Regions from separate parts of the Homo sapiens genome. Here all the other regions are linked to region 2. The links are contacts of gene promoters, found by promoter capture Hi-C in human tissues and cell types (Jung and others, 2019). All regions are on one chromosome and are shown on one strand. The core of a region is centred on a gene start or on the middle of the fragment in contact, and the rest is flanking DNA. Distances in the headings are between cores, read along the strand shown.

The links. The method cuts DNA at HindIII sites, captures the fragments that hold promoters and counts their contacts. A contact is called where the count stands out against the background at its distance.
Region 1: a contact is called between a fragment that was not itself captured here and the fragment with the promoter of SGK3 in region 2, in 1 of the 25 tissues and cell types used here (dorsolateral prefrontal cortex).
Region 3: a contact is called between a fragment that was not itself captured here and the fragment with the promoter of SGK3 in region 2, in 1 of the 25 tissues and cell types used here (hippocampus).
Region 4: a fragment that was not itself captured here is called in contact with the fragment with the promoter of SGK3 in region 2 in 2 of the 25 tissues and cell types used here (lymphoblastoid cells and spleen).

The regions. Positions count from the first base shown.
Region 1 is chr8:66,850,736-66,857,811 of GRCh38, reverse strand. It overlaps C8orf44-SGK3 (C8orf44-SGK3 readthrough), which reads right to left. Exons shown (of 19, transcript NM_001204173.2): 18 at 6,892-6,981. It overlaps SGK3 (serum/glucocorticoid regulated kinase family member 3), which reads right to left. Exons shown (of 17, transcript NM_001033578.3): 16 at 6,892-6,981. Among named protein-coding and RNA genes, the nearest start is that of MCMDC2, 16 kb to the left of the region's middle. The HindIII fragment of the contact is 5,715 bases long and covers 1,708-7,076 here.
Region 2 is chr8:66,707,600-66,714,406 of GRCh38, reverse strand. It overlaps SGK3 (serum/glucocorticoid regulated kinase family member 3), which reads right to left and starts at 1,626. Exons shown (of 17, transcript NM_001033578.3): 1 at 1,574-1,626. All of the region lies in intron 3 of C8orf44-SGK3 (C8orf44-SGK3 readthrough), which reads right to left. RefSeq lists a silencer at 1,448-1,917. The HindIII fragment of the contact is 13,282 bases long and covers 1-5,936 here.
Region 3 is chr8:66,902,733-66,908,952 of GRCh38, reverse strand. It overlaps MCMDC2 (minichromosome maintenance domain containing 2), which reads right to left. Exons shown (of 15, transcript NM_173518.5): 14 at 3,618-3,727. Among named protein-coding and RNA genes, the nearest start is that of SNORD87, 17 kb to the left of the region's middle. The HindIII fragment of the contact is 7,995 bases long and covers 1-6,220 here.
Region 4 is chr8:66,938,009-66,944,309 of GRCh38, reverse strand. No RefSeq gene overlaps it. Among named protein-coding and RNA genes, the nearest start is that of SNHG6, 16 kb to the right of the region's middle. RefSeq lists an enhancer at 3,113-3,614. The HindIII fragment of the contact is 8,975 bases long and covers 1-6,301 here.

The DNA of each region.
Region 1 (7,076 bases), core at 3,316-5,815, 140 kb before region 2:
CACACACACACATACACACACACTTTTTTGAGACAGGGTCTCATCCTGTAGTCCAGGCTGGAATGCAGTGGCACAATCACAGCTCACTGCAGCTTCGACCTCCTGGGCTCAAGGGATCATCCTGCCTTAGCCTTCTCCAAGTAGCTGGGACCACAGGCATGTGTCACTATACCTGGCTTATTTTTTATTTTTAGTAGAGTCAAGTTCTCACCATGTTGTCCAGGCTGGTCTTGAACTCCTAGGCTCAAGCAATCCTCCCACCTCAGCCTCCCAAAGTGTTGAGATTACAGCCATGAGCCGCCATGCCCAGCCCCAATATATTTATAGATAAAAACTGGGATACAAATTCAGGTGATTCATTCTTAAAGTCCATCCCTGAATTTCTAGGTTATTTCTGCTCTACAGGGAAGGGAACCCTTAAAATGTTCAAGTCATTAAGTCTAACTGAGGGTGTGCTGATAGAAATTCAGAGTGGATATTATAAGCAAAGGATAACAGCCTGGTACATCTACAAACTGAGCAGAGACCACAAAAACCCAGAATGCTAGATCCTCCCATATGAGAAAATCCCCCATAGAGACAAAGAATGCTAGAAGTTTTATATGTATGTATGTATGTACGTATGTATGGTTTTTTCCTCATCAAATTCTTATATACAATCCTTGAAGCATGGGCTCTTGGATTCTGGCTACAAAATTTGCTAGCTGTCCTTTTTTTTTGAGACAGAATCTCATTCTGTTGCCCAGGCTAGAGTGCAGTGGCGTGATCTTGGCTCACTCAAACCTCCACTTCCTGGGTTCAAGCAATTCTTGTGCCTCAGACTTCTGAGTAGCTGGGACTACAGATATGTGCCACCATGCCCAGCTAATTTTTGTATTTCTAGTAGAGACAGGGTTTCACCATGTTGGCCAGGCTGGTCTCGAACTTCTGACCTCAAGTGATATGCCCGTCTCGGCCTCTCAAAGTGCTTGGATTACAGTTGTGTAATTCGTTATATAAACTACTCTATCTCTATGAGCTTGTTTCTTCTTCCATAAAGTAAGAATACTATCACCTACCTCCTGAGGTTATTGCAAGGATCTGATGCGTTAATAAAATTTCCAGAATCTAACATGTAGAAGGCACTCAAATGATGGCAATGTTCTCTGACTTGCCTTTATAATGCCCTCATGGCTCATGGCTGGTACTGACAGGAATAATACAGGCTGAGCATCCCAAATCTGAAAATCCAAAATCCAAAATGCTCCAAAAGCCAAAAATTTTGAGCATCTACATGACAGTCACTGGAGCATTTTGAATTTCAGATTTTCAGATATGGGATGCTCAATCAGTAAGTAAATCCAAAAATCCAAAAAACAATCCCAAATCCAAAACACTTCTGGTCCCAAACATTTCAGATAAAGGATACTCAACCTGTACTATGTGGTTTATTAAGAGTGAGAGCGGGCCAGGCACGGTGGCTCATGCCTGTAATCCCAGCACTTTGGGAGGATGAGGCAGGCGGATCACAAGGTCAGGAGGTCGAGACCATCCTGGTTAACACGATGGAACCCCATCTCTACTAAAAATACAAAAAATTAGCCCAGCATGGTGGCCAGCTATTGTAGTCTCAGCTACTTGGGAGGCTAAGGCAGGAGAATCACTTGAACCCGGTAGGCGGAGGTTGCAGTGAGCCAATATCGTGCCACTGCACTCCAGCCTGGGTGACAGAGCAAGATTCCATCTCAAAAAAAAAAAAAAGAACAGTTGAGGGCTCTGCCTTCAGAGTATCTGAGAGTTAGAGTTCAAATTCTAGTTCTGGAACTTTAATTTTGAGAAAAGTTATTTAACTTTCTTTGTGCCTCAGTTAACTCATCCATATATATGGAAAATTACAGTACTATCTCATAGGATTGTTGTCAGGATTTAGTAAAAGGATACATGTAAAGTACTGAGAACACTGTATGAGAACACCTACTTCATCAAACCCTAGAATAGCTAACTGTTTGATCTTTGTTAATCTGCCAGGTGAAAAATGGTAACCTGTTATGGTTTAATATTGCACTTCTTCAACCGTCAGTATGAACTTCTTTTCATATAATTGAAAGCTATTTGTATTTCTTTTTCTGTAACTTCATGTTTTCTGTCTTTTGTCTATGTTTCTATTGGTTGTTGGTGTTTCTTCCCATTGACTAGTAAGAATGCTTTAGGTGTTAAGGAAAATTTTCCCAGTTTGTTATTTGCTTATAGTAATTTTTATGCAGATATTTCTAAATTTTATGTGGTCAGTGCTCACTTCGGCAGCACATATACTAAAATCTTATGTAGTCGGTTGGGTGCGGTGGCTCATGCCTGTAATCCCAGCACTTTGGGAGGCCCAGATAGGCGGATTGCCTAAGGTCAGGAGTTCAAGATCAGCCTGGCCAACATGGTGAAACCCCATCTCTACTAAAAATACAAAAATTAGCTGGGCATGGTGGTGCACACCTGTAGTCCCAGCTACTTGGGAGGCTGAGGCAGGAGAACAGCTTGAACCCGGGAGGCGGAGGTTTCAGTGAGCCGAGATTGCACCACTATACTCCAGCCTTGGCGACAGAACAAGACTCTGTCTCAATCAATCAATCAATAAATGAAATGAAATGAAATTTTATGTAGTCAAATCTACCAACTTTTTTCTCTTATGGCTTCTGGGTCATGCTTTAAAAAGCATTCTTCACTTAAAGATTATACACAAAAACATTATCTTAGGTCTTGCAAGGGTTACTTTTAGGTTCCTGGAATAGGTGTGACCACAGGTGCGTGCCACCACACCCAGCTAATTTTCACTTTTTGTTGTTGTTGTTGTTGTTAGAGACAGGGTCTTGCCATGTTGCCCAGGCTGGTCTTGAACTCCTGGGCTCAAAAAATCCACCTGCCTCAGCCTCCCAAAGTACTGGGATTACAGGTATGAGCCACTGTGTTCAGCCCATACCTAGGTTTTAATTCTTCAGAGGGTTTGGGAACCAAGGCAATGCATATCAAGGACCTAACACAATGCTGGGTACACAGTGGGCACGCACTAGAAGTTAATTCCTTTTTTCTCCCCTCCACTTGGAAATGTATAACATAAATATGTCCTGGTACTAATATGCACCCTCACTCCAATCTGTCCTTTCTGGACCCCTGTATTTTCATAGTAATCCCTTCCTACCACACCCAATCCCTTAACACTTAACTAATTTTAACAACCATTAATAAGAGTGATTCATTGACCCAGAAATGAATATTTTCTTTCAGCTTACAGAATTGTTAGAATGATGCCAGCCTCCCCCCAGGTCCAGACCCACCTCTCAGATGTGGCTTCTGAATGACCCACTTGGAGCATGGCCAAGCCACTCCTATCACAGCTCAATACCACATCTACCCCCTTCAGGGCAGGACTATGCCATACTTTTAATTTAGGGATTATTTTCTATGCTATACTTTTACTTTAAGGATTATTTGGGGGGAACCTCTAATTTGAAATGTTGGTGAGCCCTCTCCCACCAAGCAGTCAATTTTTGTTTTCATACTTTTCCAAAATTTTATATGTAATAAACAGAAATTCCTAAAGTAGGGACTGAGGCCACAGAACTGTAAACTATTAGCTATGCAGAATAGTCAATATTTCAAAAAGGGAGTCAAAACCCTTAGCAAGTTGTATTCTAAGAGATGCCAAAATGAAAGCAGCAACAAAGTAAGTTTTTCTGAGGATTAAAGTGGAGGCAAGGATCAAAACCTGGGTGTACCCAACATAGAATGGAATGTTAGGATATGCTTCATAGTAACTTACAGGATTTCAGATGGAGCTTCAATGAAATCCTACCTAAATACGGCTTATTTTGGAGGCACTTGTTTTGTGTTGGTTGTTCCGAAATGGTATAATGAGAAATCTTTTAAAGTATCAAAAACTACTTGTTGATAAGTTTTATAGCAAAAAAAGATTAAAATATAATAATGTACCCATTCATGGTTTGTATTAGCCCATTTTAGGTCACTGCTATTATCCTTTCTCTATCAGCTGCTGAGAGAATAAAATTAAGCAACCAATTCTTATTAGGATAAATTAAATATTTAGCAGTATAACCTCAATTCTGTGGGCTAAAAAAAGAGAATCCAGAATGCATTTTACCCATTGTAAACAGAGAAATAAACTGCTTCCAGTCCTTTTTTAATGTAGACTAGTTGGACACATATAATTGAAGTAAATACTTTATGCAACCTGTTAGATTTTGAAATAATTCTCAGTAACTGCTAGAAACATTCATCATAGAAATACTGAAGCTTAGCATGGTCAATAACCCCACTCTCCCTTTCCCTAGTAACTACCCTATTAAAATATAAAACACTAACCGATTGGAAAATCAACTAATTCATTTTATTCACTGAAAGAGTAAGCATCAAAGACTATTTCTGTCAACTGTTTTTCCCACAGATGCAATCATAAGTTATTATGAGGCATCTGCTTTTTTGCCTCACATTACATATTTTAATTCCACAACACTGAATGCCTAATATGCACTAAACATAGAATTATTTAACTCTTCTCTTTATATATTTTATCCCCTTAACTGTAATTTTCTTGAAGACAGAGCCCATGTTCTACTTGTGTTTTCTAAGTTACCAATAAATATTTAATGAAAACATTCCCAGAGGGAAAAGAATTAAAAAAAGGTATTATTAATTAAATATCTACTGTGTGCAATGCACTGAGGTGCTTTACAAATGTTACCTAAATTAAACCTCAAAGCTCATGTTGTGAAAGAAAAAAAAGTATAGAGAAGCTTAACTTCTAGTTAATCATAGAAGAGCAGGGATCCAATGCTGGAGCTATCTGAGTCTGAAGTCAATACTGTTTCCATTTCCAGTGTTGCTTAGGAGTCCCTTCAACATTCTTCAACATGCTTGATGATATATTTATTTGAATGTAATTAAATTCTGCTAAGATACTTAGTCTAAAGAGAAAAATAAAATAATTCTTAAGAGTCTTAGTTTCCTACCACAAACTCTAGAAATTTGGGACCGAAATTATTCCTAATGGAGTCATTCCTGGATGCACTACATGAAGTCAGTCAGTCTACAAATATTATGTATGTAGGTGTAAAATATTACACCTATTAATTAATACCAGCTATGAGCTATGTATAGAAATTAACCTGGAACAAAGCCTGATAGACTATTAAATAATACTTTCCTGATCTCCTTATCTGCTCTAATTTATTAAAAAAGTATTCCTGGCCGGGCACAGTAGCTCATGCGTGTAATCCCAGCACTCTGGGAGGCTGAGGCGGGTGGATCATGAGGTCAAAAGATCGACACCATCTGGCCAACATGGTGAAACCCCATCTCTACTAAAAATACAAAAATTAGCTGGGCGTGGTGGCGCATGCCTGTAGTCCCAGCTACTTGGGAGGCTGAGGTAGGAGAATCTCCTGAACCAGGGAGGCGGAGGTTGTAGTGAGCCAAGATCGCGCCACTGCACTCCAGACTGGCGACAGAGCAAGACTCTGTCTCAAAAAAAAAAAAAAAAAAAAAAAGGATTCCTTAAGTTTTGCAGCAACATCAAAAAACTTAAAAAAAGAAAATAAATTCACCTATGATCTTAAAACTCCAAATCAGTCTTGGCTTATATTCTATTCTAGTCCTTATCCTTATTTTTACTGCTATAATTATAAGTCACAAAAATTGTAATTACCATGTTTTCATGTAACTTTATAAGGATTTTCTAAGTGCTTGCTCATTTTTATATAATTTAACAAGAAAAGACAACAGAGCATAAGGAAACAGAATAATGACTCTGGAATCACGCATATATTGGAATCCTGGCTCTACTATCCAGCTATGAGACATCTCTGAGCTTCTATTTCCTCATTTATAAAATGTGTAATAAGAAAAACAGTAATAGTAGTAAGCTGGTAGCTTAAGAGTAAATTATATATTATAACACATACAAAGTGTATATCCCTATACAAAGGAAGCTATCATTAGTGACTAACATCATTACTGGCCTACTGATGATTATTAACAATTTCCCTGTTGTTATGTATTTACTGTATTTTCCAAAATTTTCTAACACTGTTAATAGTATAAAGCTCATCTTTAATATGGCTTTTTGCTTTAAACAAATTATCTTTAGGTGAAATGTTTCCATCAAGTAGATTTAACAAGTCTAGCTAACATGAACATTTTTATAATACTATCCTATTGTTTTCCCAAGAAAGTAACAATTTACATTAATATGATTTTATTAATAATGTTTGTCTATACCTGTTTTTTTTTTTTTAATTTTATTTTGAGACAGGGTCTCGCTCTATCACCCAGGCTGGAGTGCAGTGGTGCAATTTCGACTCACTGCAATCTCCACCTCCTGAGTTCAAGTGTTTCTCATGCTTCAGCCTCCCTAGTAGTTTGGGAGTGTAAAGGCATGCATCACCACACCCGGATAATTTTTTTTTGTATTTTTAGTAGAGACAGGGTTTCGCCATGTTGGCCAGGCTGGTTTTGAACTCCTGGCCTCAAGTGATCCACCCACCTCGGCCTCCCAAAGTGCTGGGAGTGATCTGCCCACCTCAGCCTCCTAAAGTGCTGGGATTACAGGTGTGAGCCACCATGCCTGGCTGACTTGTTGAGTTCATTCTTTTCTTATACATGCTCCAAAGAAACACTTTACAATTACTGTGCTGGAAGACATTTTTATCAACCTAATCTAACTATAATCTTACTGGTCTCCCTGAAGTTATTAGTTATACTAGACAACCCTGAGTGACATATTTCACAAATATTTAGGTAATGACTCCATTTAATTCAGGTGATTCTGAGATCTAGTTTCAAACTTACAATGAACTGCTATTAAGTTTCACGATTCTAGAAAGAAAGATTTGGATATATACTTACCACATTAGGATTAAATGGTGGTGGAATCTTCTTTTGTACAAGGTCAGCCCAGCTGAGTGATTCAAAAAAAGGATGATTCTGAATTTCAAGCTGGAATATTAAAAAAAATTTGTTTTACTAATGCCGAAGAATATATTAAGTACTAACTGCATAATTTTATGAAGCCAAACTATTACTATTTTGCC
Region 2 (6,807 bases), core at 377-2,876:
TCACCACATTGGGTCTCTAATGGTGCACATTTGAAGAGGGCATGTTATTCTGAAAAAATATTCTCTGCATATCTGCAAATCACAAAAGGTACACCTATGAGGCTGACCTACCAATTCAATGTTTCCAAGAGCAAATAGCAGTAAAATTACAAAACGTTATTTGTTATGTTGATGTGTGCAAACAAAAATGTTCTATTTTATAGTACATTTCAAGTTCAATCTGACCCTCATATCTAAACTATGTCATATAAATAATGTCATATAAACAGTGTCGAACAGATCAGGAACAAAGCTCTTTTCAAAAACAAAAGTAGGCTCCATGCAGTGGCAGTTAAAGAAGGGGAAGTTCTGGTGTCTCCAGAGTTAGCCGATGGGCACAACGGCAGTTGAAAGAGACCATGTTACACAAGTCATTCAGGTTCTGGCCAACATCTGCTTTGAACAGGTCGCATTCCCAGGAGCTCCAGGCTCCCTTACCCCAGGGAAATGCTGGGGTGGTGGCTTGTCTTACAGAAGTGGTAGCCAAGGGGACCAGAAGGCACACCCGGTGCTAAAACATGCCTAAAACTTCCTCTAATGTTTACAGCTCTTCCAATGACATTTGGGGAACTAAAGTATGGATAGCCTCTTCATTGCTAGAACCGCTATAATATGATAAGTTAAGAATTTGATTTAATATTTATAAAGAACTTAGAAAGAGCCCAGCGCATAGTAAGGGCTATGTAAGTGTTTGGTAAATAAAAAAAGGCACCTCCCAGATTGGCTGGGTGAAGTCTCAATCTGGTGAGAAGGGAGAGAATCAAAATACACAACAGTCTATTTTTCACTTTGACAAAAGATTTAGAAATTACAGTGCTCTGTATTTATTTTGCACCCAAGTGCACACTAAGTAGTCTCTGGTGCAGGACTGAAATTCTACTCATGGTTCAGAAGTCACTGTGCACAACTCAATGAAAGCGTTTTAAGTTTCAAGAGATGATTCCTTTCTCTTTTCTCTTTCCAAGTAACGATGACTAAAAATGACAGAATCTAAAAATCTCAAAGCACTTCTTGTGGGTACATTCCAAAGCTAAAACTGTGAGAATTAATAGGGCCAGATTCACTTGAAGAGACGTAAGGGTTCAAATTACAGAGAACTTAAAAGACGCAACGTATTAAGGTCTTTTACTACAGATCCGCTGACAACAGGTTAAACGATTCCATCCACCCCACTCTGGCGGCTGCCCCCTCCCCGACCCTCGCAGGTGACCTGCACCCACTTTCGACCTCAGATAGGGTCTCCCTGCTCGGCGTTCCCAGTTCCTCCAGGCTCGGCGGCTGCGTGGGGGTTAACAAGGTCCAGCCACCGACGCCCCTTGGGCGTTTAGGAATCTCGAGGCAGGATCTGAATTCACCTCGTGGAAACAAAGACCACAAACTCTCCGGGAGCCGGGGGCTGGGCGGAGGTACGGCTTTTTCCGAGGACAGGCAGCGGCCGAGGCCCGGGCAGCCCTCGCCCCGCCCCGTCTCCTCCCGCCCCGGGCCGCCGTCGGAGTCCCGGGCGCGCGGACCCTCCCGCCGGCCCCGCACCTACCTGGCCCCGCGGTGCTGCTCCCGGCGCGGCGGGCGCGGAGCCGAACGCACTGCGCTTCCTCCTTCCCGGCAGGGCCGCCGGGCGCCGGCGTTTCCTCCTTGACGCGTCACGGCCGCTGGCGGCTCCTCCCGCGGAGCGCGCGGGAGGCCGAGGACAGCCGGGGAAGGCGCCGGATCCCAGCAGAGCGGCGCGAGCGGCGGGCCGGGGGCAGCCCGTGCGGGGAGGGGCTGCAGGCTGCGTCCCGCTCAGGCCTCCGAGGAAACCCGCGCTCCTCTCTCTTCCCCGAGGACCCCCGCGAAAGGCCGGGCCACGGTGCACCGTCTGCCCCCGTCACGCGCTGTGCAAAGTTCAAGAGGACACAGTGGGTCCTGTCTGGAGTCACAGACTCTGGTGTTTCCCTCTGCTCCGCCCGCAGTGGCCGCTACCCTGGGGCCCAAGACCGGCGCGGGCCAGAGCGCCGGGGCCCAACAGAGATGACCTGGTGTGTGCAGGGATCAGGACCCCCCGGGTGGGCCCGTGGTGTTGGGGGGGTTGGCTTGGTGTAAACTGGAAACTCAGAGGAGTGAATTAAATATCCAAATAATTGAGAACAACTGTGATTCATTTAGCATTATTTGGACAGTTTTCCACTTTTGTCATTAGCAGAGTTACGGCCCTTGTGTTTATAAACAGTCGAGAACTTTCACAAATTGGCAGATCCTGTGTGCAGAGAAATTTCCTTTCCACACATCTTTTTAGATCTACTGACTCTTTTTTTTATTCCCATTAATCTCCAAGTCAGCTGAGTGCACACTTTACAGCTCCTTATTACTCATTCTTGAATTACAGAAGCTGCGTTTTAGATCTGTTTATCTCTTTTAACAGATAGAGAAGCTGAGTGGAGAACTAAGAATTACATGGTTCAATGGATGTGGAGTCAAGTGGTTAAGATTTTGAAGTAGAGTGGGTTGTTTTCTTCGTCCCACAACACTACTGTAATTTAGGTCTTATCAGATATCACTTGAAGATAGACTCAGACAAGTACTTAAAGATTCCCATGTGCATATCATGCCTTAGATTTTGAGACAATGATTTGTACTTTAGATCATATGATTCCAGAGAATTTGCCACAAATCTATGAACAAATAAACTGCCAAAGGTTATTAGAGGAACTGGGATCTATGTGTGACTTCCCTAAATTCAGAAGACATTTCCTCATGTTTTAAAATGATATTCAAAGATTTAGCCCCACAAGTATGGGTTAGGACATTCATTTTTAATGTCAATAACCACAATGTGGCCTCTCTTTAAAAAGTGGATTGTGAATCCAAATACTTTTTGTACTTCAGTAATCCTACAGAACTTTCTAAACAGTAGTTTTCAGAAATGAATATAAGAATGCAGTAGATACAAAACAATACATTGCCGGTGGTCCTTTATATGTTTTACTGTGGTCCACAAAGCAATCCACATACATTAGAGGAGTTCTTCCCTTGTAACAAAATCAACAAGTGATGAGTGTATCTCTTAATTAAAGCCATATTCACAGTGCTGAAGATTTCTCAGACAAAAGGAAGTTCTGTGTCAATAAACTCCAAGTGGAATAACATCATTCTCACTTTAGAGACAAATACCTGGCTATCACCACATCTTGACTTTTTAAAAAAATAAACATCTGGGAACCATTACATTTCTAGATAAATTTGTCCTATTGTGAAGAACACACACACACACACACACACACACACACACACACACACACACAGAGATCACCTCCCACAAACATTTTATGTATTTTCTTTTTTTTTTTGAGACGAGACGGTCTCACTGTGTTGCCCAGGCTGGGTTCATTTGATCAACAGACAACATGTTAGGCATTTTGCCTTTACAATCTGAGAGCTGCAATTTAATAGCTAGATTTTGCAAAAAGCTAGAGGAGGTAAATATATTCACAAACTACTAAGGACTTTTTCACTGTAATTAAATTAGTTTTTTTTTTTTTTTTTTTTTTTGAGATGGAGTCTCACTTTTGTTGCCCAGGCTGGAGTGCAATGGCACAATCTCAGGTCATTCCAACCTCCTCCAACTTCCGGTTTCAAGCGATTCTCCTGCGTCAGCCTCCCGAGTAGCTGTGATTACAGGTGCCTGCCACCACGCCCAGCTAATGTTTTGTATCTTTAGTAGAGACAGATTTTCGCCATGTTGGCCAGGATGGTCTTGAACGCCTGACCTCAGGTGAGCCACCCGCCTTGGCCTCCCAAAGTGCTGGGATTACAGGCGTGAGCCACCATGCCCAGTCTAAAATTGGTTTTAAGGGCAAATTTTAAGGCTGATCACTTTGTTGTTGTTGTTGTTGTTGTTTTGGTTTTTTTTTTTTTTTTTGAGACAGGGTCTCACTCTGTCACCCAGACTGGAGTGCAGTGGCGTGATCTCGGCTGACCGCAACCTCTGCCTCCCAGGCTCAAGCAATTCTCCTGCCTCAGCCTCCCCAGTAGCTGGGATTACAAGTGTGCGCCACCACGCCCGGCTAATTTTTGTATTTTTAGTAGAGACAGGGTTTCACCATGTTGGCCAGGCTGGTCTTGAACTCCTGACCTCAAATGATCCACCTGCTTCAGCCTCCCAAAGTGCTGGGATTACAGGCTTCAGCCACCGCACCTGGCTAAGGCTGATCACTTTGATTAATTGTGTTCACCTATTGATAGAGATATAGGTTATATCCCCATTTTCTGTTATGTTTCCAAGTTTAGACTGTAAAAAAAAAAGTTGTTGAATGTTCAGCTAAATGTCTAGCTGATGTTTATACCTTTATGAAATATTTCATGTAAATAAATTTTAAAAATAGAGCTTTTTATCAGACTATGGGTCCCAATACTTTCTTTGAAAATATGATTCTGTTCATTCAGATAGAGCAAATATTTTGTTCATCTGTTTTATCTATAGTGTAGAGATTTTGAACACAAGCTTTGGAATTGGACAGACCCAGGTTTAACTCCTGGTTTGCCACTTCCTACTTTGGGCAAATTGTTTCACTTCTCTGAGCACCGGTTTCATCAGTAACCTGGGGATAATAGTGCTTTTTCCTCTTCAGTAAAACGGAGATAATAGTGCTAATCTCATGAAATTGCTATGAGGATCAAATGAATTTAGTAGAATGCCTGGAACATAATACCAAGTGACTGCTATCTTCATCATTATTAGCTCTAAAACATATATTAAAATGCCAATATTATATATGTTTTATTTGTAATAGTATTAAAATGGCCAGATTTTAGAAATTTTGGCGGTGGCTCACGCCTGTAATCCCAGCACTTTGGGAGGTCAAGCCGGATGGATCACGAGGTCAGGAGTTTGAGATCAGCCTGGCCAACATAATGAAACCCCGTGTCTACTAAAAATACAAAAAATTAGCCAGGTGTGGTGGTGGGCACCTGTAATCCCAGCTACTTGGGAGGCTGAGGCAGGAGAATCACTTGAACCTGGGAGGTGGAGGTAGCAGTGAGCTGAGATCACGCCATTGCACTCCAGCCCCGGGCGACAGTGTGAGATTCCGTCTCAAAAAACAAACAAAAAAACCCCAACTACCCAGCCACATAATGTGGTTATTACGATTATTTTAGATCATATATTCCAATGAAATGAATGCTTGGTTTTCATCCTCCACTATTCAAAATGGGAAACCTTTTCTCTAAAATGGTGCCTTATGTGGAAGCATTATTACTTTTTTATATCATAATAAAGCCCTCTATTATTTGTAGTTCTTTTATCAGAACCTTGGAAGAAGTGAGGGGCATAAAAATACAAGAAATACCACTTCCATTAGTGAGGGCTGGTATTCATTAGAATGCTTGTTTTTTGCCAGGCACCGTGGCTCATGCCTGTAATCCCAGCACTTTGGGAGGCTGAGGCAGGCAGATCACCTGAGGTCAGGAGTTCAAGACCAGCCCTGCCAACATGGTGAAATCTTGTAGCTACTAAAATACAAAATTAGCCAGATGTGGTGGTGGGTGCCTGTAACCCCAGCTACTCAGGAGGCTGAGGCAGGAGAATCGCTTGAACCCGGGAGGCGGAGGTTGCAGTGAGCCGAGATCTCACCACTGCACTCCAGCCTGGGCAACAAAGCGAAACTCCAGCAAAAAAAAAAAAAAAAAAAAGGAATACTTGTTTTATAGCAGATAAAATATTAAGTCTAGAGAGGTAAGAATAATCCTACCAACTATATGCTTACAAAAGCAAAATACTTTTTTTGGTTTGTTTTGTTTTTTGAGACAGGATTTCATTCTGTCACCCACCAGGCTGGAGTGCAGTGGCGTGAGCTCGGCTCACTGCAGCCTCGACTCCCTGCTTTCAAGCCATCCTCCCACCTCCTGAGTTGTTGGAACTACAGGCTTGCGCCACCACCTCAACAAATTTTTAAAATTTTTTGGAGTCAGGGTCCCACTATATTGCCCAGGCTGGTCTTGAACTCCTGGCATCAAGTGATCTTCCTATCTCGGCCTTGAAAAATGCTAGGATTACAGGTGTGAGCCACCTCGCCCAGCCTCGCAAAGGATGGTTTTGATTCATATTATTTGCATTGCTTTTAGGGTATCTTTTCCCTCATTCTGCTGAAGACTCACATGCTTAAGTGGGTCAGACACCATAAGTTGTTGCTATAGTTTCTAGCTATGTTTATCAGCTGACATTCTAATCACAACATCCCACAGTATCAAATAAAAGAAAACCATTTTTGTGGAGAAGATAGTTAAAAACATAATCCTAACTATGAATTGGCTCAGATTGTAATAATTAAAAGGAAAACCTTGCTGTAAAAATGGGTAAAAATATGGGGAAACAAAAGTGACTAATTTATTAAATTTTCTTTTTTTTTTTTTTTTGAGATGGAATTTTGCTGTGTCACCCAGGCTGGAGTGCAGTGGTGTGATCTCGGCTCACTGCAGCCTCCATCTCCTGGATTCAAGCAATTCTCCTGCCTCAGCCTCCCAGGTAGCTGGGACTACAAGCACACACCACCACACCTGGCTAATTTTTGTATTTTTAGTGGAGACAGGATTTCACCATATTGGCCAGGCTGATCTTGAACTCCTGACCTCAACTCATCCGCCCACCTCAGCTTCCTGAAGTGTTGAGATTACAGGTGTGAGCCACCGAGCCTGGCCTAAATTTTCTTTTTTTTTTTTTTAAATTTCTCTCTCTCTCTCTCTTTTTTTTTTTTTTTTTTGACTGGGTCTCACTTTTTTTTTTAGAGACAGGGT
Region 3 (6,220 bases), core at 1,175-3,674, 190 kb before region 2:
CTAACTGTGTCAGTCACTAAGTAAATATATTCAGCCATATGGCTGGGCGTGGTAGCTCACACCTGCAATCTCAGCACTTTGGGAGGCCAAGGAAGGTGGATCACTTGAGGTCTTGACAGTTTGAGACCAGCCTGGCTAACATGGCAACACCCCATCTCTACTAAAAATACAAAAATTAACTGGGTGTGGTGGTGCATGCTTGTAATTCCAGCTACTCAGGAGGCTGAAGCAGGAGAATCACTTGAACCCAGGAGATGGAGGTTGCAGTGAGCCAAGATTGTGCCACTGCACTCCAGCCTGGGTGATGGAGTGAGACTGTCTCAAAAACAAAACAAAACAAAAAACTCAACCATATTCTATCACAGGAGTCCTTAATATAATAATACTATAATTCTTCAATTCAAAGACATATATTTTCATCTTATTACCGTACTCCAGTTGTATCTTAACAATTGATGGCATGGCATGGTAAAATTGGCAGAATTTTTTCTTTACAGCACATAAAATAATGTGTCTTAGACTTAATGAAATGTGGTCTTAAACATAGACTAGGAGAAGCATGTAAAGATAAAGCAAATTGATAATCTTCAATAAACCTGACAAAAAACAAGCAATGGGGAAAGGATTCCCTATTTAGCAAATGGTAGTGGGAAAACTGGCTAGCCATACACAGAAAACAGAAACTGGACCCCTTCCTTACACCTTATACAAAAATTAACTCAAGATGCATTAAAGGCTTAAATGTAAAACCTAAAAGCATAAAAACCCTAGAAGAAAACCTAGGCAACACCATTTAGGACACAGGCATGGGCAAAGACTTCATGACTAAAACACCAAAAGCAATTGCAACAAAAGCCAAAATTGACAAATGGGATCTAATTAAGCTAAAGAGCTTCTGCACAGCAAAAGAAACTATCATCAGAGTGAACAGGCAACCTACAGAACCGGAGAAAATTTTTGCAATCTCTCCATCTGACAAAGGTCTAATATCCAGAATCTACAAGGAACTTAAACACATTTACAAGAAAAAAAACCCCATCAAAAAGTGGACAAAAGATATGAACAGACCCTTCTCAAAAAAAAGACATTTATGCAGCCAACAAACATATGAAAAAAAGCTCATCATCACTAGTCATTAGAGAAATGCAAATCAAAACCACAATGAGATATCATCTCACAACAGTTAGAATGGTGATCATTAAAAAGCCAGGAAACAACAGATGCTGGTGAGGCCGTGGAGAAACAGGAACGCTTTTACACCGTCGGTGGGACTGTAAATTAGTTCAAACATTGTGAAAGACAGTGTGGCGATTCCTCAAGGATCTAGAACCAGAAATACCATTTGACCCAGCAATCCCATTACTGGGTATATACCCAAAGGATTTTAAATCATTCTACTATAAAGACACATGCACACGTATGTTTATTGCAGCACTATTTACAATAGCAAAGACTTGGAACCAACCCAAATGCCCATCAATGATAGACTGGATAAAGAAAATGTGGCACATATACACCATGGAATACTATGCAGCCATAAAAAATGAGTGCATGTCCTTTGCAGGGACATGGATGAAGCTGGAAACCATCATTCTCAGCCAACTAACACAGGAACATAAAACCAAACACCACATATTCTCATTCATAAGTGGGAGCTGAACAATTAGAACACACGGACACAGGGAGGGGAACATCACACACTGAGGCCTGTTGGGGGTTGGCGGGGGCAAGGGGAAGGAGAGCATTAGGACAAATACCATGCGGGGCTTAAAACCTAGATGACAGGTTGATAGGTGCAGCAAACCGCCATGGCACATGTATACTTATGTAACAAACCTGCATGTTCTGCACACTTAACCCAGAACTTAAAGAGAAAAAAAAAATAGGTGGGACACGGTGGCTCACGCCTGTAATCTCAGCACTTTGGGAGGCCAAGTCAGGCAGATCACCTGAGGTCGGGAATTCCAGACCAGCCTGACCAACATGGAGAAACCCCATCTCTATTAAAAATACAAAATTAGCTGGGCGTGGTGGCGCATGCCTGTAATCCTAGCTACTCAAGAGGCTGAGGTTGCTTGAACCTGGGAGGCAGAGGTTGCAGTGAGCCGAGATCATGCCATTGCACTCCAGCCTGGGCAACAAGAGTGAAACTCCATCTCAAAAAAAAATAATAATAATAATAAATAATAATTTAAAAAAGAAATGCTAATTAAAAAAAGATAAAGCAAATTGAAATGAAAAACATATATATATCCTCCCTAACTATTATTTAGTATTGGTTGGGAACCAGCGTTATTCTCTTTTGGTAAATAAAACTAATTCAGGATGATATTTAACCTCTTTTAGGGGCCATAAATCTCTATTTCATAAAAATTAATGCTCTATGTTCCTCGGAAAAAAATGTATAAGGCACACACATGTGTACATTTGTATATTATTTAGGGATTTGCAAGCCCCTATACCAAGCATCTATGGATCCTAGATTAAGAATGCTTGACATTTATAGAACAAAGACAATTATAGAACAATTTATAGAACTTTAGACAATAATAGAACAAAGTTCTAATATTCGAATGGATCTCTGCAAACAGGTATTACAATATAAATGTAATTTAAAGCAAATGTAATCACCAGCACATACACACAGGAAAGCTAGTGTTAATACATTCTTTAAGTCCCAGGGCTGGAACCAAGGTTTGGTTTGAAGAATGGTATCGCTAATCAAAATTAATGTCTCATCTAATTCAACCAAGAACTTTGGGAGAATAACTCTCCTTTACCCTTACCTTAAAAACCTCTTTTGCGTGTTTATTAGCAAAAGCATAATAAGTGCCATTCATTTCAAAAAATTAAATGCTATAGACATAGTATTAAAACTAGTAATTCAGCAAAGGTGGTGATACAAGATAATCAGATTTTCTTTTCTTTCTTTCTTTTTTTTTTTTTTTGAGATGGAGTCTCACTCTGTCACCCAGACTGGAGTGCAGTGGTGCAATCTCAGCTCACTGCAACCTCCACCTCCCAGTTTCAAACGATTCTCTTGCCTCAGCCTCCTGAGTAGCTGGGACTACAGGCACCTGCCACCACACCTAGCTAATTTTTGTACTTTTAGTAGAGACGGGTTTTCACCATATTAGGCAGGCTGGTCTTGATCTCCTGACCTTGTGATCCATCTGTCTCGGCCTCCCAAGGTGCTGGGATTACAGGTGTGAGCCACCACACCCAGCTGATGATCAGATTTTCTTTTGCTATGTTGCCTAACTCCACTGTGGGGGATTGTTTGATACCTAAATGTTGCAAGTTATTTTAAAAGGAAGATAAATTAAAATCATTTTATGTGTTGTAGTAAGTACTTTTTCCCCCAGAATTCTTTAAGCAATGCAAATGTTCAAATATGAAAACAATCATGCATAATAAGGAATTTAATATCAGATGATGATACTACCCAGAAACAGTTAATAAATGCCCAAATTAAAACAGGCCTTACCTGGTAGAGATTTGTTATTCTTTAAAATAATATTTTAAAAATATATGTAACATTTTAATTTAACCAACTAAGAATATTTAAGGTTAAATAAAAGTTATTTGTAGTGATCATTAATAATTTAATTCATTACCATATTTCAATGTGAGGGATGTTTCAAATAGTAAGGCTGCAATCAGCACATCTTCTTTAAGCACTTTGTTCCTTAAGTTCAGTCGTGCATGGGCTTCAGATAGGAAAACGCTAAAAAAGAAAATAGTTGCCAAAGAAAATATGTTGATATTATAAAAATAATATATATTTTGGCAGGAACAAATCGAGATATATATGAACCTTAGCCACACCTAAAGCATATTCTTACTTTAAAAAAATTTTTAGTTTCTTTTCAAAGGATTTTTTTTCCCCACCGACTTAAATAGACTGTTCCAGAACAAGCCAGTATCCTTTTGGTTTCCATCCTGGCTTTTATTTATCATTCCACACTCCCCTCCCGAAGTTTTGTTCAGATAAATACACAGTTGGGAAAATTAATCTAACTAAATATCTTTTACAGACAAATCCTTGACTTTTTCTTTTAGTCCTTCATTTATCTAAAATCCTCATAGATTTGCAAGATTTTTGTTTGCAATTTCAGCATTGGAAGAGATCTTGGAATTCAAAGTTCAAACTTTCATCAGAAAACTAAATTTCCTCTACAACATCCTGGGCTATTCATTTTCCAGTCTCTTTTGGACCTCTCCTAGCATTCATGGCTTCATGAGGCAATCCGTTCCTTTATTTTTAATTTTTTAACCAGCTTCCATTACTTGAAAGATCTCCTTCAAGCAAAAGTGATGTATCTGAATGACTGCTGAACTTGGGAATCAGAAAACCTAGGCTGAGTCTCTAGAATTTACTAGCTGTATTACTTTGTATAAATCATTTAATGTATGAGATTTTTTGAAACTCAGCTGTAAAAGGCAGATAAGTAAAGGCATTTGAAAGTTTTGCAACTAACTATAACCATAACTAACTATAACCAAGATTCTATCAATCTAAGCTAAAATTAGTTTCACTGCAATTTCTACCCACAGGTCTCTTGTTCTGTCTTCTGAGACCTCTTAATATGATGCTCTTCAGATATGCAAAGATAACTTTTTGATTGCTCCGTGTTTTCTCTCCTCCAAGTTAAATATTTCTAGTTCCTTTACTATGCTATGAGACATAATTTTCAGCTCCTTACCATGATGGCTACTCTCCTCATGACCTAATTTGGTTAATACTCCTTTTCAGTGCAGTACGACAGCAGTTTTGACCATCACATTAGAGATAAGGCATAACTAGCATTTTGTTGCTCTTGATATATATTCTATTAATATGACCCCAACTCTCAGTATTATTAATAGCCATATTACATTATTTACTCTTATTAAACATAAAAAGAATGAAATATCAAATCCTTTTCATATCTTTTCATATTAAGCCACATTACCATTTTCTCATCAATTCACACTTATACTAGGGAGTCTGGGCATCTAACAGAGGGCTTTACATTTATCCTATTAACTTTCTTCTTTTAGATTAAGATCACAGTTCAAGCTTGTGAAGTTCTCTCCAATATTGCTCATTTATAAATGTAATTATCATGTCTCTGATATCCTCATCCAAGATCCTTCTAAAAATGTTGACCGGGACAGAATATGTATAGAGCCTTTAGAAAGTATTGTTCAGCTCCACTTCTCTAGAAAAGCAAAGATGCTTGTGATTAGGTACCTGTCTGTAGAAATGGCAAAAAAATTCAAGGTTTATGACTCTTCTAGCTAGGGGTTTATTTACTCTGCTGTTTCACAAACCACCCTTAGTATTTATTTCTACAATGCGAAAAAGTAGAGTTATCATATTAAAATTAACTACTTTATTTTTGAAATAATAGCTGCATCACAGCTTCACTGTGTTGTGATGTAGCAGTACCATAGTTTAAACAGTCCCCTACTGATAGACCATTTCTTTATTTGATATAGTATTAAAGTGTAATCTCAAAATAATTGTTAAGTAGAACCAGGAGTAAAATAATTCATTAAATAAATAAATAAATATATTGTTACAACTGCAATATAAAATAAGACAGATGAAGAACTGGCAGAAAATGTCAAGTATAAATCTGTAAGATTTAGACATGTTTAGTTAATTTCCCCAACTGTATATTTATCTTCATAGAGCTGAAAAAATGCTAAAGATAAGCCAAGTAGAAGTCAACTCTTTGATAAATGTTTCAAAATGGAAAACAGAATTACATAATGCTTTCTGTTTCCTGAAGTAACATTTAAAATACTCAGATCAAATTACACTGTTTGCTTTTTTTTTTTTTTGAGACAGTTTCACTCTTGTTGCCCAGGTTGGAGTGCAATGGCCCAATTGCAGCTCACTGCAACCTCCGCCTCCCAGGTACAAGTGATTCTCCTGTGTCACAGCCTCCCAAGTAGCTCAGATTACAGGCATGTGCCACCATGCCTGGCTCATTATTTTGTATTTAGTAGAGACAGGGTTTCATCACGTTAGTCAGGCTGGTTGTGAACTCCTGACCTCTGGTGATCCACCCAACTTGGCCTCCCAAAGTACTGGGATTACAGGTGTGCACTACCGTGCTTTAAGAGTTCTATTTTCTCATAATGTTCTTTTCTCTATAGTAAAAATATGTTTTGTATTTGAACTCACATAGTCTCAGTTTACATATGAAAAGATATATGTATATATATA
Region 4 (6,301 bases), core at 2,941-5,440, 230 kb before region 2:
TGAAGAATAATCCTAACTATTAAAGATTATGTCAGTAGTCATTTCTTGTGCATATGAATGTTACTAAAGAATCTCATGCATTCCTTCCCTCCCAGGGCCAAGAAGTATGTCCCAGGGATGAACTTCAATCACTCATCTTCAGTTTTTTTAGCCATTAGAAACTGGGGGCCATTTCAAGCAATGTGATGTCTAAAGAAAAATTTATTTTAACCATTTTTATTTTCAGATAGACTCTGAAATCACTAACTTAAAAATGTTAAATGTTTGCTATTATAAGGTTTCTTAATTCCATTTTTGTTTTTTTGAGACAGAGTTCCCTCTGTTGCCCAGGCTGGAGTGCAGTGGCACCATCTTGGCTCATTGCAACCTCTGCCTCCCGGGGTCAAGCAATTCTTTTGCTTCAGCCTCCTGAGTGGCTGGGACTACAGGCACCTGCCACCATACCCAGCTAATTTTTGTGTTTTTAGTAGAGATAGGGTTTCACCATGTTGGCCAGACTGGTCTCGAACTCCTGACCTCAAGTGATCTGCTCACCTCAGCCTCCCAAAGTGCTGGGATTACAGGCGTGAACCACTGCACCTGGCCAAAGTAGCTTAATTGTTTATGTAGATGGATATATGATGTGGAACAAAAAATTTTTTAAGGCCAGGTGCAGTGGCTCATGCCTGTAATCCCAGCACTTTGGGAGGCTGAGATGGAAGGATCACTTGAGCCCAGGAGTTCAAGACCAGCCTGGACAATGTAGTGAGAACCCGTCTTTACAAAAAAATTAAAAAATTAGCCAGGCATGGTGGCGTGTGCCTGTGGTCCCAGCTACTCAGGAGATTAAAGTAGGAGGATTGCTTGAGCCCAGGAGGTGGAGGCTGCAGTGAGCCATCATTGTGGCACTGCACTCCAGCCTAGGAGACAGTAAGACCCTGTCTCAGGAAAAAAAAAAAAAAAAATTTTAATTAAGCTGTATTTTTAAAAAGTAGGCCTGTGCAAGAGTGTCCCTACTCTGTGTGTAGAACATCTGTACCACCTTGCGGCCATAAGACCCTGTACCAGAGTCATCTTGAAACATGGGCTACAATCAAGTAAAAATAATGGTATGCAATGGCAGAGGCAGGCGAGTCAAGAGAGGAGGAAAGGTGTGAAGCTATTTTCAGATCCCCCATTTAGAAAGAAGAGGCCAGTTCCACCAGTGTCCAGTCCTGCTATAGTGTGTGGTTATAGGGACACACAGGAGAGACTGCCTCAAAGAGGAGACCTGACTTTAGAACCAGACCAGAACAACTAAAGCTGCCAGTGCTGAGCCACACTCGGTCTGAGAGATCCAGAGAGCAGCCACACCTGGTGTAATGAAGACTGGGCCCAGGTGGTCTTGTTTTCCTCTCCAGCCAGCCAGTGCCAGAGACTGGACACTGGACAATGTCTAGGGTGATGGTGGTAGTGGAGATGGCTTAACAGAAGACAGAAAACTTGCCATAAGCAATGACTACTGGTCTCTCCTCTTCCCCTAACCTATGTGAGCCCACCCAGACTTGTGGCTACTCTAGGGATACACACTTTGCTTACATTAGCACATTCCTTTTCTTTGTTGACAGGAAATAGAGCTTCTTGCAGGAATGGACAGTATGGTTCAGTGGTGGGAGGTAAGAGCTTATTTTTCTTTCTTTTTTTTTTTTTTTTGAGAACGGAGTCTCGCTCTGTTGCCCAGGCTGGAGTGCAGTGGCTCGATCTCGGCTCACTGCAAGCTCTGCCTCCCGGGTTCATGCCATTCTCCTGCCTCAGCCTCCCATTATTTTTCAAGATAGAGGTTTAATCAAACTTGAGGAAGGGGGAAAGGGGAGGTAAGAAGAGGTTGAAGAAGAAATAGATCGTACCAAAAGACTTAGCTTCTACTTCTTAATAGGCGATGAGTTGGGGACTTTTTTTTTTTTTTTTTTTTTTTTTTTTTTGAGAAACAGTTTTACTCTTGTCACCCAGGCTGAAGTGCAGTGGCACAATCTGGACTCACTGCAACCTCTGCCTCCCAGGTTAAAGTGATTCTCCTGCCTCAGCCTCCTGAGTACTGGGATTACAGGCTCGCACCACCAAACCTGGCTAATTTTTGTATTATTAGTAGAGACGGGGTTTCACCATGTTGGCCAGGCTGGTCTCAAACTCCTGACCTCAAGTGATCCACATACTTCGACCTCCCAAAGTGCTGGAATTACAGGCGTGAGCCACCGCACCCAGCTGAGTTAGGGACTCTCACATTAGTAAATATCCTTAGGGCATGCAGCAGTTTAGAGGAGGGAGGAGATAATATATTTTTCATTACTAAACTGATCTGTGGCCCTCAGCCTCCCTAACTCATTGACTTAAGGCCCTCTTGGTTAAGGGCAGATTCCTCCTAGAATGAAGTCACTGTACGCCTCTGTACGCCTTTGAAAATGCAAAAATAGACTGGGCGCAGTGGTTCGTGCCTGTAATCCCAGTACTTTGGGAGGCCGCGGTGGGTGGATCTCCTGAGGTCAGGAGTTCGAAACCAGCTTGGCCAACATGGTGAAACCCCATCTCTACTAGAAATACAAAAATTAGCTGGGCGTGGTGGCAGGCGCCTATAATCCCAGCTACTTGGGAAGCTGAGGCTGGAGAATCGCTTGAACCCAGGAGGTGGAGATTGCAGTGAGTGGAGATAGCACCATTGCCCTCCAGCCTGGGTGATGAGAGCAAAACTGTCTCAAAAAAAAAGAAAATGCAAAAATAACTTTGAGAGTCCCTAGCAAGCAAGATAATAGACTTAAATTTCAGACTTTATGAAGAGAGAAAATGGAATTTTAAGTTCCAAAAGCTGCCCTCTATGTATAAGCGCCAAGATTGGAGGTCTATAAATGGAGTTTTACTAAAGGTGCTAACAGGGAAGGGAGGCCAAGGCACTGAGAGGTAGTGGAGGTGTCAACCTCCACTGGTGTCCATCTTGAGAAAAATAGGGAAGTGTGGGGTAGTGAAAAATTGGAGACAAGGGCTGACCTTGCCACAGTTCTCTAGACAAAGCCCAACAAAGCCCTAGATTCTGCCCAGAGCCACACCCTGGGCAGGCAAGATGAGCAATGGCTGAGGGAGGGTCCTGAGGGCAGCCCCACACCGCAGGCTGCCACAGGTCACAAGCTGCTGAGAGTACTCAGGCCAGGATGCCAGGACACAGGAGGCCGCAGAGTACAGGGCCCCCAAAAGGGGACATTGTAAGCAGGATGCAGGATCTCAGCAGTGGATGCCAGCATGACCCTGAGGGACCAGGTAGTGACAGACACACTATGTCAGAGTGCAGTCTAGACCCAGAGGACAGACAGCATGGGAGCCTGCAGTCCCTCCCTCCATGTCCTTTTGATTCACAACTGCTCCCTGAAGCCATCTAGGGATGAATGGAGAAGGACAGGCAGGAAGCCCATTGAGTGTAAACAGCACTGATAGAGCTTCAACTTTTACTTGGCTGAATATTTAATGAACAGAGACTAACATCAAAAGGGATCTGTTTGGCAGTTTTCCTCTTCAGGAGTGAGGATTCTAGAACAAGATGAGGTTGGATACAGGACATAAAGCTACGTTATTTTCCTCACATTCCAGTCATGGTATGGACATTTTAACCCAATTATACAGTAGAGATGGACTATCTGCATCAACAGTTTACACCTAATTGCTCAGTATTCCAACTTATTTGACCTTATAGTTTAGAACACACCAAAATGACTGTGTTGGTACTGAGGACCTTCCTGGACCTTTGCAAATGGATTAGGAAAGAGTCTTGAGAAACTTGCCCAGCGTTGTCCAGCTAATCAGAGGCCAGATTCAGGCCCAGACAGTATGGCTCCGAGAGCCTGGTTCCTGTCCTAGACTACCTACTCCGTTAGTGCCTGGATGCTTAAAGCACTTGAGTTTGCACCCCTAGTTTGGTTGGAAAACACTGTCCTTTGCTGCAGGTCTCTCACTGTGGTAAGCACTTGGTATAGGGTTTGTTCTCAATACATTTCCCTTGCCTTTTGCCCTCTTCCCCTTAGCTCACAAAGTTGATATGAAATAATAGCTGAGAAAGTGCATGTAGGCAGCTCAGTGCAAGCTAGGTGTGTCTTCCCTGGCTCATTAGCTCCATTTGATGAAGAGTTAAACATGTAAGGTGAAGCGTGACACAAAAACCCGCAAGCTGCCTTAAAGGGAAAGATGGCTAATTTTGACTACATAAAAATAAATTCACAAAACAAAAGACAAGGTCAAAAGACAAAACACAAGCCAGAGGAAAAAAATCACAACACATGATAAAGCAGTAAATCTCTTTACATAAAATCAGTTCTCAGATTTCAAAAAAGCAAAACACCAACAACTTAGTGGAAACTTGCACAAATGGGAGCAAAGACCGAGCCCCTGCACTCCAGCCTAGGCAACAGAGCGAGACTCTGTCCCCCTACCCCCACAAAAAAAAATAAAAAAGAGAAACTTCCACAAATGGTAACAAACAGCAGTTCATAGAAAGAAACCAAACAGGGCCGGGCACGGTGGCTCACGCCTGTAATCCCAGCACTTTGGGAGGCTGAGGTGGGCGGATCACTTGAGGTCAGGAGTTCGTGACCAGCCTGGCCAACATGGTGAAACCCCGTCGCTACTAATAATACAAAAATTAGCCATGCATGGTGGCAGGCTTCTGTAATCCCAGCTACTCAGCAGGCTGAGGCAGGAGAATCACTTGAACCCACGAGGTGGAGGTTGCAGTGAGCCGAGATTGTCCCGCTGCGCTCCAGCCTGGGCAATAGAATGAGAATCTGTTTCAGGAAAAAAAAAAAAAAGAAACCAGCCAATATATTTATGAAAAGATACACAAGTTCAGGCATAATTAAGAAACACACATTTAGAAAGCAATGGAAGAACATATTTCACCTGTCAATGATACAAAAAATACTCATCATTAGTGAAGGTGAGGAAATGAGGACTTTTGTACTGTTGGAAGCATAACCTCTTTTAAATGTAATTTGACAGTATCTCCCACTATTATAAGTATACACACTCTGACTTAGCAATGCCATGTTAAAAAATTTCCCTACCAGGCCGAGTGCAGTGGCTCACACCTGTAATCCCAGAACTTTGGGAAACAAGGCGGGTGGATCATGAGGTCAGGAATTCGAAACAAGCCTGGCCAAGATGGTGAAACCCCGTCTCTACTAAAAACACAAAAATTAGCCAGGCGTGGTGGCATGTGCCTGTAATTTCAGCTACTCAAGAGGCTGAGGCAGGAGAATCGCTTGAACCTGGGAGGCGGAGGTTGCAGTAAGCCAAGATTGAGGCACTGCACTCCAGCCTGGGCGGTGGAGCAAGACTCCCTCTCAAAAAACAAAAAACAAACAAAAATCCCTATTGATATACTTACATTTGTAAATGTATGTAAGAATAATTATTGCAGGTATTCATCATTTTTACCTTATAATTTGTAGCCTTGACAGTTTCCCCAGCCTTCAGTATTGGCTGCACCCAAGTAACCTATCAAAAAATGCAAACCTGAAGATATAACATACTTGCTCAAATCCCTTCAGTGGTATCCCATGATCTAAGGATGAAGTCTAACCCCTTAACTTGATTTATGAACCCTCTTCCTATGTCACTGCCCTCCACCACTTCCTATTTTACATTTTAGTTATTAGTAAACACATGTGCACACACACACACAGCTATTTCACGCTTCAGTGCCTTTGTTCATCAATCATCAGTTGGTCCACAAATTTTTTTATTTTTTTATTTTATTTATTTATTTTTTGAGATAGAGTCTCACTCTGTCGCCCAGGCTGGAGTGCAGTGGCTCGATCTCGGCTCACTGCAAGCTCTGCCTCCCGGGTTCACGCCATTCTCCTGCCTCAGCCTCCCGAGTAGCTGGGACTATAGGCGCCCGCCACCACGCCCGGCTAATTTTTTGTATTTTTAGTAGAGACGGGGTTTCACCGTGTTAGCCAGGATGGTCTCGATCTCCTGACCTCGTGATCCACCCGCCTCGTCCTCCCAAAGTGCTGGGATTACAGGCGTGAGCCACCATGCCTGGCCCACAAATGTTTTTTTAATGCTACGGCAGGCATTGTTCATTGCTTACTAGATTAGTTAGGAATTGCATTCAGCTGCTAATAAGAAAGACCCAACTATAGTGGCTTTAGTAAATTAAAAATTTATTCTCTAAAAGAAATCCAGGCCGGGTGCTGGGGTCTCACGCCTGTAATCCCAGCACTTTGGGAGGCTGAGGCGGGCAGATCACGAGGTCAGGAGTTCAAGACCAGCCTGGCCAACACAGTGAAACTCCATCTCT